Regions from separate parts of the Homo sapiens genome. Here region 2 is linked to region 1. The links are contacts of gene promoters, found by promoter capture Hi-C in blood cells and fetal thymus (Javierre and others, 2016). All regions are on one chromosome and are shown on one strand. The core of a region is centred on a gene start or on the middle of the fragment in contact, and the rest is flanking DNA. Distances in the headings are between cores, read along the strand shown.

The links. The method cuts DNA at HindIII sites, captures the fragments that hold promoters and counts their contacts. A CHiCAGO score of 5 or more calls a contact.
Region 2: a fragment that was not itself captured here is called in contact with the fragment with the promoter of SKIDA1 in region 1 in 1 of 17 cell types (erythroblasts); the score reaches 5.6 in erythroblasts.

The regions. Positions count from the first base shown.
Region 1 is chr10:21,523,840-21,527,651 of GRCh38, reverse strand. SKIDA1 (SKI/DACH domain containing 1) reads left to right here and starts at 1,970. Exons shown (of 4, transcript NM_207371.4): 1 at 1,970-2,105; 2 at 3,781-3,812. RefSeq lists silencers at 33-191, 51-370, 381-500, 946-1,095, 1,216-1,635 and enhancers at 1,291-1,934, 1,935-2,578. The HindIII fragment of the contact is 4,259 bases long and covers 1-2,766 here.
Region 2 is chr10:21,973,554-21,977,170 of GRCh38, reverse strand. The region is part of intron 1 of DNAJC1 (DnaJ heat shock protein family (Hsp40) member C1); the gene reads left to right. Among named protein-coding and RNA genes, the nearest start is that of DNAJC1, 28 kb to the left of the region's middle. The HindIII fragment of the contact is 5,267 bases long and covers 1-3,617 here.

The DNA.
Region 1 (3,812 bases), core at 721-3,220:
TCTATTTATCACTTTATAAACATATCTATGTTGCTTTCCCTTTTTCTCATAACGTGTGCGTTGCAGGCTCGCCCGGCTTCCTTCAATTTCGCAGCACGCTGTAAAGGCTCCTTCCTCCGAGGTCTTCAGCTGGGAACCCCTCGCTGGCTGAGTCTGACCATCAAAACTTGCCGCGCCGGCCCGACCCGACCCGGCCGGAGCTCAGGAGCCCGGGGAGGCGCCGACGGGGGTCGGGTTGGCCCGCGGGGCCCCTCCCTCGGTCAGGACGTGCTCGGCTAACAGCGGTGCTAGGGCAGAACAATGGGGGCGGCCCGGCGGGCGCGAGGAGCCAGGTCCCGCTTCCTCCGGCGCGCCGGCCCCGCGCCCGGCCCCCGCCCCCCGAGGCCTTCCCCGCCTGCCTCTTCGCGCTCGCCAGTCCCGCCGCGCCTTCCTCCAGCTGCCCGGCCCGGCGCACGCCCCGCCGCCCGCACGCCTTCTTCCCCGCCCGGACCTAGCGGGCCCTCCTTCCCCCGATTCCAACCCACTGCGCTTCCTCCCAAGACTCCAGCTTCTTCCCCTCAGCCGCCGCCTTCGCGCCCTTTTCTGAATGTATTTTTACAATTTCCCCCTTCATTTCCAAAAGTGGCTGAGAAGTCTCGCTTCCATCTTAATGTTGATTTGCTATTTCCCTCCGGAAAAGATTTCCTCAGGAAACCCCAAATCTAGAAGGAAATACAGCAAACCCTAGAACGCTTTTAACCCTTAAGACATCTTGTATTAAAAGAAAAAAAAAGCATGTATGTCTTAAAACCGGCCAAAGAACCATCTCCTCGCTCTTTATTTCCTCCTGTAAATGCTATTATTTTAAACTCTCCATTTTAAACTCGTCCTTCGGACGAGAGGGCAGAGAATGTGCCCGGCAGCACGCAGCAAATCAGAGGTTTTATCTTACGCCTCCTGGGACTGGGAAAAAAAGTGGAACGTGGCCGAGGGAGCTTCCAGGGCAGAAAAGCGACACAATTCGCTGGGGACGCCGCTGGGCCAGGCCAGGCGGGGGAGGCGCGGCGGGGGCGTCGAGGGCTCTCGGGCTCCGGGCCGGGGCGCCGCTGCGAGGAGGGGAGGCGGTTTTAAGTCATGGGGGCTGGGAGGGCGGCGGCGGGTCGGGCGTGACGAGACTTTCGGAGGCAGGATGGGGCGGCGGTGGAGTTGCCTGGGCTTTCTCAGCACCCCCCCCAACACACCCAAATAAAAAAAGGAAAGTTAGAAGGAGGCGGAGAGGAGGACAGCCATCCCCATTTCCTCCCCGCGACGCCGCGGAAGGGCTGGGGCCGCTGCGAGCAGAGAGAGGGCGCGGGATGAGGCGGGCCAATCGCAGTCAACAGGTCCAGGCCTCAGTGGGGCAGCTGAGCCGGGAGGCCGGCGCCCCCTCCCCTCGGCTCCCCGTCCCTCCCCTCCCTCGCAGGCCCGGCGCGGTAGGGGAGGCCCGGCCCGGCCCTCCCCGCCCCGCGCGGACTCGCTGCGGCCGACTCCGCCGGGGCAGTCGGGGTGGGGGTGGGGCGGGGGTTCCCCGCCGGAGAATCCTCCCCCGGGGCTGGCGGCGGGGGCGGGGAGCGAGAGCCGGGAATGGAGGATTAGGAAGGACTCCAGCTCGGCACGAGCGCGGCCCGCGCGAGGGATCCTGGGTAAAAAGTGGCCGCGCGGCACCGGAGAGCGCGGAGAGGAGCCGGGGTCAGGGGTCACGGCCCTGGAGCCCCGCGTGCAGAGCCCCCCACGTGAACGCAGCGAGCAGGAGGAACCTTTTTGTTTTCGACCGCGCCAGCATGCTCCCCTATTGACCGAGCTGCTTTTCCTGGGCTGCTGGGGAGAGGAGCTCCATTGCGGAGCTCTTAACCCCACCCCCACCTTCCACCGCCAACACACTTCCCAACTCAACCCTTCCTCTCAACTCTCATCCCAGCCCCCCGTCCTGAGCTTGCAATAACGCAGTAAATTTGCTTTAACAACAAGTGGGGGTGGTTGAATTTACTCCTCCCTCTCCTCTCTCCTCCCCTTCCTCTTGCTGCGGTTCTTGACACTACTACAAACCAGGACTATAAACATAAACATGTGTCACTGTAACAGGGCAGGTAATATACGGATTTTGAGGCGGGGTGGGGTGGAGCGGGGCTTGGTCGCCGCTTGGAGGGCAGTAAAAAGTCGCGTTTCACGTGCTCGACGGCTTTGGGGACTCCCGCACACATCGATCCGTTTATATAATGCCGAAGGCACTTGGTCACTTATTCAGCCACGCAGACCCACAAAGCCAGACTTGCGGATAACCAGCGTACCCCAAAGCAAATGCATTTCAATACGAATCCCTCTCCTTTCCCAGCCAGTGCTGCCATTTCTTCTATTAGCAAACAGTAACGTGATACTTGAATCCCCTTTCCTTTTTAAAAATTCTTTTCCAGATAGCCATGAGATCATTTTTCGACCTAAATAGTACATCTCTCCCATAGCCACTACCTACACATTTTGTGCGCAGAAACCCCTTCAAACAGCAAGAAAGTCTATTTAAATGACTGAGTTCGAAATCTGGTGTGCAAAGGGTATTTCTTGGGCTTTGCCTCCGTGCATTGAGCAACTTCTGCTGCAAGTTGCTGACACTGGCGCGGTGGAGATCCGCCACAGCAAGCCTTTTTTATTATTATTTAGTCTATATCTGCCTCTCAACTTTTTTCTCATTCTTAGTTCAACAAGCCAGCAACCACTACTTAAGGTAGAGTAAAGCGAATCCCTTCCCAAGCTTTTTGGCTTGAAACGGAGGGAGATACAGAAAATGTTCAGATGGGGAAGTGGTTCCCTTTGTTCTTTCATTGTTTCTCTACGAACTGGTGGATACAAGGACAAACACTTACCTTCTCTTCTTTTTGCTCCACAAACCAGACGTTCCCATCAGCCTTAAAATACACAATCCACCTTGAAAGTAACTACGGATGTCGGGAGAGTTTGTATTCCATTCTTTTTCGCTCTCTGCCCTCTTTTAGCGTAGGATTAAGTTGCAGAGCACGTTGCTGCAAGCTGTAGCCCCCCCCCCCCCCCGCCTTAGTGAATCGGTCACGTTTAGGACCCTCTAAGTCCATCCTAATTCTGCCAGTAGAATTGAGGGTATTGGAGCTCTAAACTTTCAAAAGGAAAGGGGCCTGCAACTCTCCAGAAAACTTACAAATACCCCGAAATTTTTTACCATTGTGTTTTTGCACCACATCACCAAATAGTATTTGCCAAGAAATAATAGATATGTCTTTGAGAAAAAAAAATTTTTTTAAGTTTATACTTAGCAATGCGCTGCTTAGACAGATGTAGTAAAAGGCAGGTTTGTATCGGCATTTAACGGAATGAGTGCGTTTTCCATAACGTTTGTTGTGCCATGTGTTTTTTTAAAACACAAACAAAACACTACCCCAACTGAGAAAGGAAATAGAAGTTTGAATTAAAATGTTGTGGAACAACTTTAAAAGAGACGTTTACTTGAAATTTATTAGTGTAAAAATTGGCCTCAGAAGTGAAAAGTAAGCTTTTCAAAGTTAAAAGACTTAATTTTCACCCTATGATTCCATAACAAAAAAGCGAATTTTCTGGTTAATATGTGATACTGTCAGTGTTGAGTGTCCAGTCTTTTGGGTCTTAGTGTCCAAACCTTGCTCAAATCTGATTATGATGTGATTTGCTGATGTCATGAATATGAAATGATACTTGTGTATCCATAAATTCGAACTTGTGATTTTTTTTTTTTTTTTTTTATCTCCCGCTTTTTTGTAGGTTCCCAGTAGCTGCAGCAGTGAAAGACAGTG
Region 2 (3,617 bases), core at 902-3,401, 450 kb before region 1:
CCTAGGATTCTACTTTTGTGTTTGTGAGAATTGCCGGGAGAGTAAGAGGCCAGCAGTGTGAGTGTCCACCATGTTCTCTACCTACGTACAAAGAAGCCTTAGTATGCTCTGACTCATTGATGAGAGCAAATTGGAGACTGTCACTGCTTTTTGCTTCTGTTGCTTACCATTGGCCCCATTGCCCCTTTACTGATGCTACTTGTTTTGATTGGTTGCTTTTGCAATGTTTGTGCTGTTGTTGTTACGGAAGAAAAGAGAAATAGGGGAGCCTAGTGGGTGGGCCGGCGGCATTCAAGAAGACTTAGAGAAAGGCAGAAGCTGCAGTGTTTGTCTCTTCCTCCACTGATTTTAACATGGCCACAGGAGTCATTAAACATAGCCTCTGTAGCATAAGGAAGGCAGAATTCTCTAGCTCGTTTGCGTTTTGTTGCTTAGTGGGAAGAGCTGAGAAAAAAAACAGAACTGGAAAACATCGCTTACTCCTAAAATGCAAGGGTAACCTTTTCAGACTTCTGTTGATTTTTGATGGGTTAAGAAATACAGTATGTACATATTCCTTTTAACTCTCCCCCACTAATATGGTCTGTTGGCATTTTCCTATTATTTGACTAGCGTCTTAGGAATTATTACTACAAAGATTCAGTGACAAATAACTGGCCAGAAGAAGATGTGGCATGTAATTTCAGATGACAGTGGGATGATGTTGGTACTTTCAGGACCTGTGGGTAGTAGGGAAAAGACAGTGTAACAGTTAATAAATGTTTGTATGGATTGCCTTAGTTTACGACTGAACAATCACATGCTTTTATTATTGGCCCTACCTCATAGAATCAAAGCCTTTTACATATGCCAACATTTTACAATATGTTCATTACCAAATGTTGCATGCCTGGTTGGTATATACTTTTCTAGATTTTGTAGGCTATGTAAAAATTTGATCCTGGTTCTCAAATATGGATAAAGAAGATACATGACTGTATTTTGGAATCAGGAAGATGAATACAGTTTCCAGCAATAAATCTATTACTGTCTTTTGAAAAAAAATCTTATTGTATGGTCCTTCAAGATTCAAAGTTTCTCTTAAAAGTAATAAACTGTAATATAGATAAAGCTGCTTATGCAGCAGCTAATTTATGGACCTCTTCAGTGCATTTTAAGATTTCCCTATTATATTTTTGCCCATCTAAATATGTTACTCTTTCCCTAATTTTCCCATAATTTATCTAGAAGAAACTTGAGGTGAATCTAACTTTTTAAAAAAACCTTTAGGCCAAAAAAGTTGAATAGTAATCAATTCATAGTTTAATGAAGGACATGTGTAGTTTGAGTTTCTGGATAACCTCTCTTCCTTTGAAAGTGTTTCTTAATTAAAACCAGATGAGAGCAGCAAAGAAGGTATTCAGAACACTAAGTAAAATTAATGTGCTTCATGGAATTTGCAGAATTCATCAATACATGTAACAATGATTTATAATTGCATTTGGTCCTAACACTTATCAGTGTAGATCTAACAGAGGGACAGTAAGTAAGATAGCTAGTATGAAACACTAAGGTGAAAGGGTTAATTGGCCTTGCACAGTTCAATTTGCCACTCTAGTGGCACTTTCTATTGTCTGTGTAAACAGAGTTGCTAAGTACTTTCCCGCTAAGCTGCCACCCTTTTATTTATACAGTTGAACCACCAATGAGGAATGGATCAGTTTACCAGTTGTTAGGCCTTTTCTTCCTGCCTTTTCAGCCCACTTCATGTTTTTTCCCCCAGCTATTGCTATATACCTCCCTAATAATTCCTTAGTCTGTGATTTTGGTCTCTCTCTCTCACTCTCTTTCTCATTTATTTATTTATTTATTTATTGCAGCTTATTTTTTTCTCATATTCATTGATTTGAGCATTGGGATATTAATAACCTGGTTCTACTCCTTTATACCTCATTTCTTCTCGCCTCTACTCCCATTTTACCAAGTAAATTCTCAGAACTTGCTGCAACTCTTTCAAATAACTATTTTAAAGTAACATTTAAATAGCTCTTCAAAAATGAAAACATTACATATATAATGCTGAAGTCCTCTTTAACCAGCCTATACTGTATGAGTACCCCTAGTCCACTGTGAGTTAATATATTAAAATATATACTTCCATACCATTTTCATAATTTTATATCTGTGTATATATATTCATAAACATAATATGATATTGTTAGAAATTTACATAAATGATATTCTGGGAACATTTTTTCTTGTTTTTTTCACCCTGCATTGTATTTTTAAGATGTATACATATTACATAAGAAGTATACATATTACATTACATAGAGAAATCTACTTTAAACCATTAATTACTTCATAATATTACATTGTATTTTGCAGTTATCTACCTATTAATGAATATGTAAGTAACATCGTTTTTTCTCCATTTTAAACAATATCACAGTGAACAACCTTATAAATGTTGTCTTGTATATATTGCTACAGGTTTTTAGAGCAGTGTTTTCCAAACAGCAGGTAACGAAGGCAGTGTAGTAAGTTGGAGTCTGTACTTTTCAGAATAGAATGCAGTACAAAGTGTCAGGGTAAAAGGTACTTACTTTTTCATGAAATATATGTAATTGTGTTCTGAGTTGTGATATAAAATGTATTTCCTACTGTAGGTTTCAATAAAAAAGTTTATGGTGTGATACAAAATAAATTTTGTGCTGTGTATCTTAATCATAAATTTTGTGCTGTGCATCTTAATCGGCTCTGGATTATGTACCCAGAATGGGTTAGCTGCATCACGGGTTACATAGTATTTTGAATCTTCCTAGACATAGCAAAATTACTTTCCAAAATGGCCGTACTGATTTCACTCCCCATACCCTAATCGGTATTTGACATTCTAGTCAGACTTCTACATTTCCTATGTTCTTGAGGGTGAAAATTCCATTTTGTTTAAATTTTCATTTTAACTGGTTAGGTTGAGCCTAACTTCCTCATTACTGAAAAGAAAAGTGTTAAGACCTATCTGGTTGGTAGGTTACTATTGAAAATCATATTTCTTTTCCTTTTTTTCTTTTTTCTTTTTTTTTTTTTTGAGACGGGTCTCACTCGATTGCCCAGGCTGGAGTACAGTGGCGTGATCTCGGCTCACTGCAACCTCTGCCTCCCAAGTTCAAGTGATTCTCCTGCCTCAGCCTCCCAAGTAGCTGGGATTGCAGGCACGCACCTCCAGGTCCGGCCGATTTTGTATTTTTAGTAGAGATGGGGTTACACCATGTTGCCCAGTCTGGTCTCGAACTCCTGACCTCAGGCGATCCACCCTCCTCGGCCTCCCAGAGTGCTAGGATTACAGGTGTGAGCCACCGCACCTGGCCAAAAATCATATTTCAAGCTAGAGAAACTTTCATCTCCAGATCTTTTCTAACACTTCTTTTTTCTTTTTTTCTTTTTTTTTTTTAAGTAGTGAGCATAAAACTATGCAGCCTTAGTAAATAATTACCAAAAATAATTTTGTTAACTATGCACATTCAGGTTTTTCACACATTTGTTTTGAAACACAGTTCTTTTACCCAATATGATTAACTTCAGGTACAACTGCATATTTGAGGAATACTGATACAGCTCATTTCAGCAATTTAGAT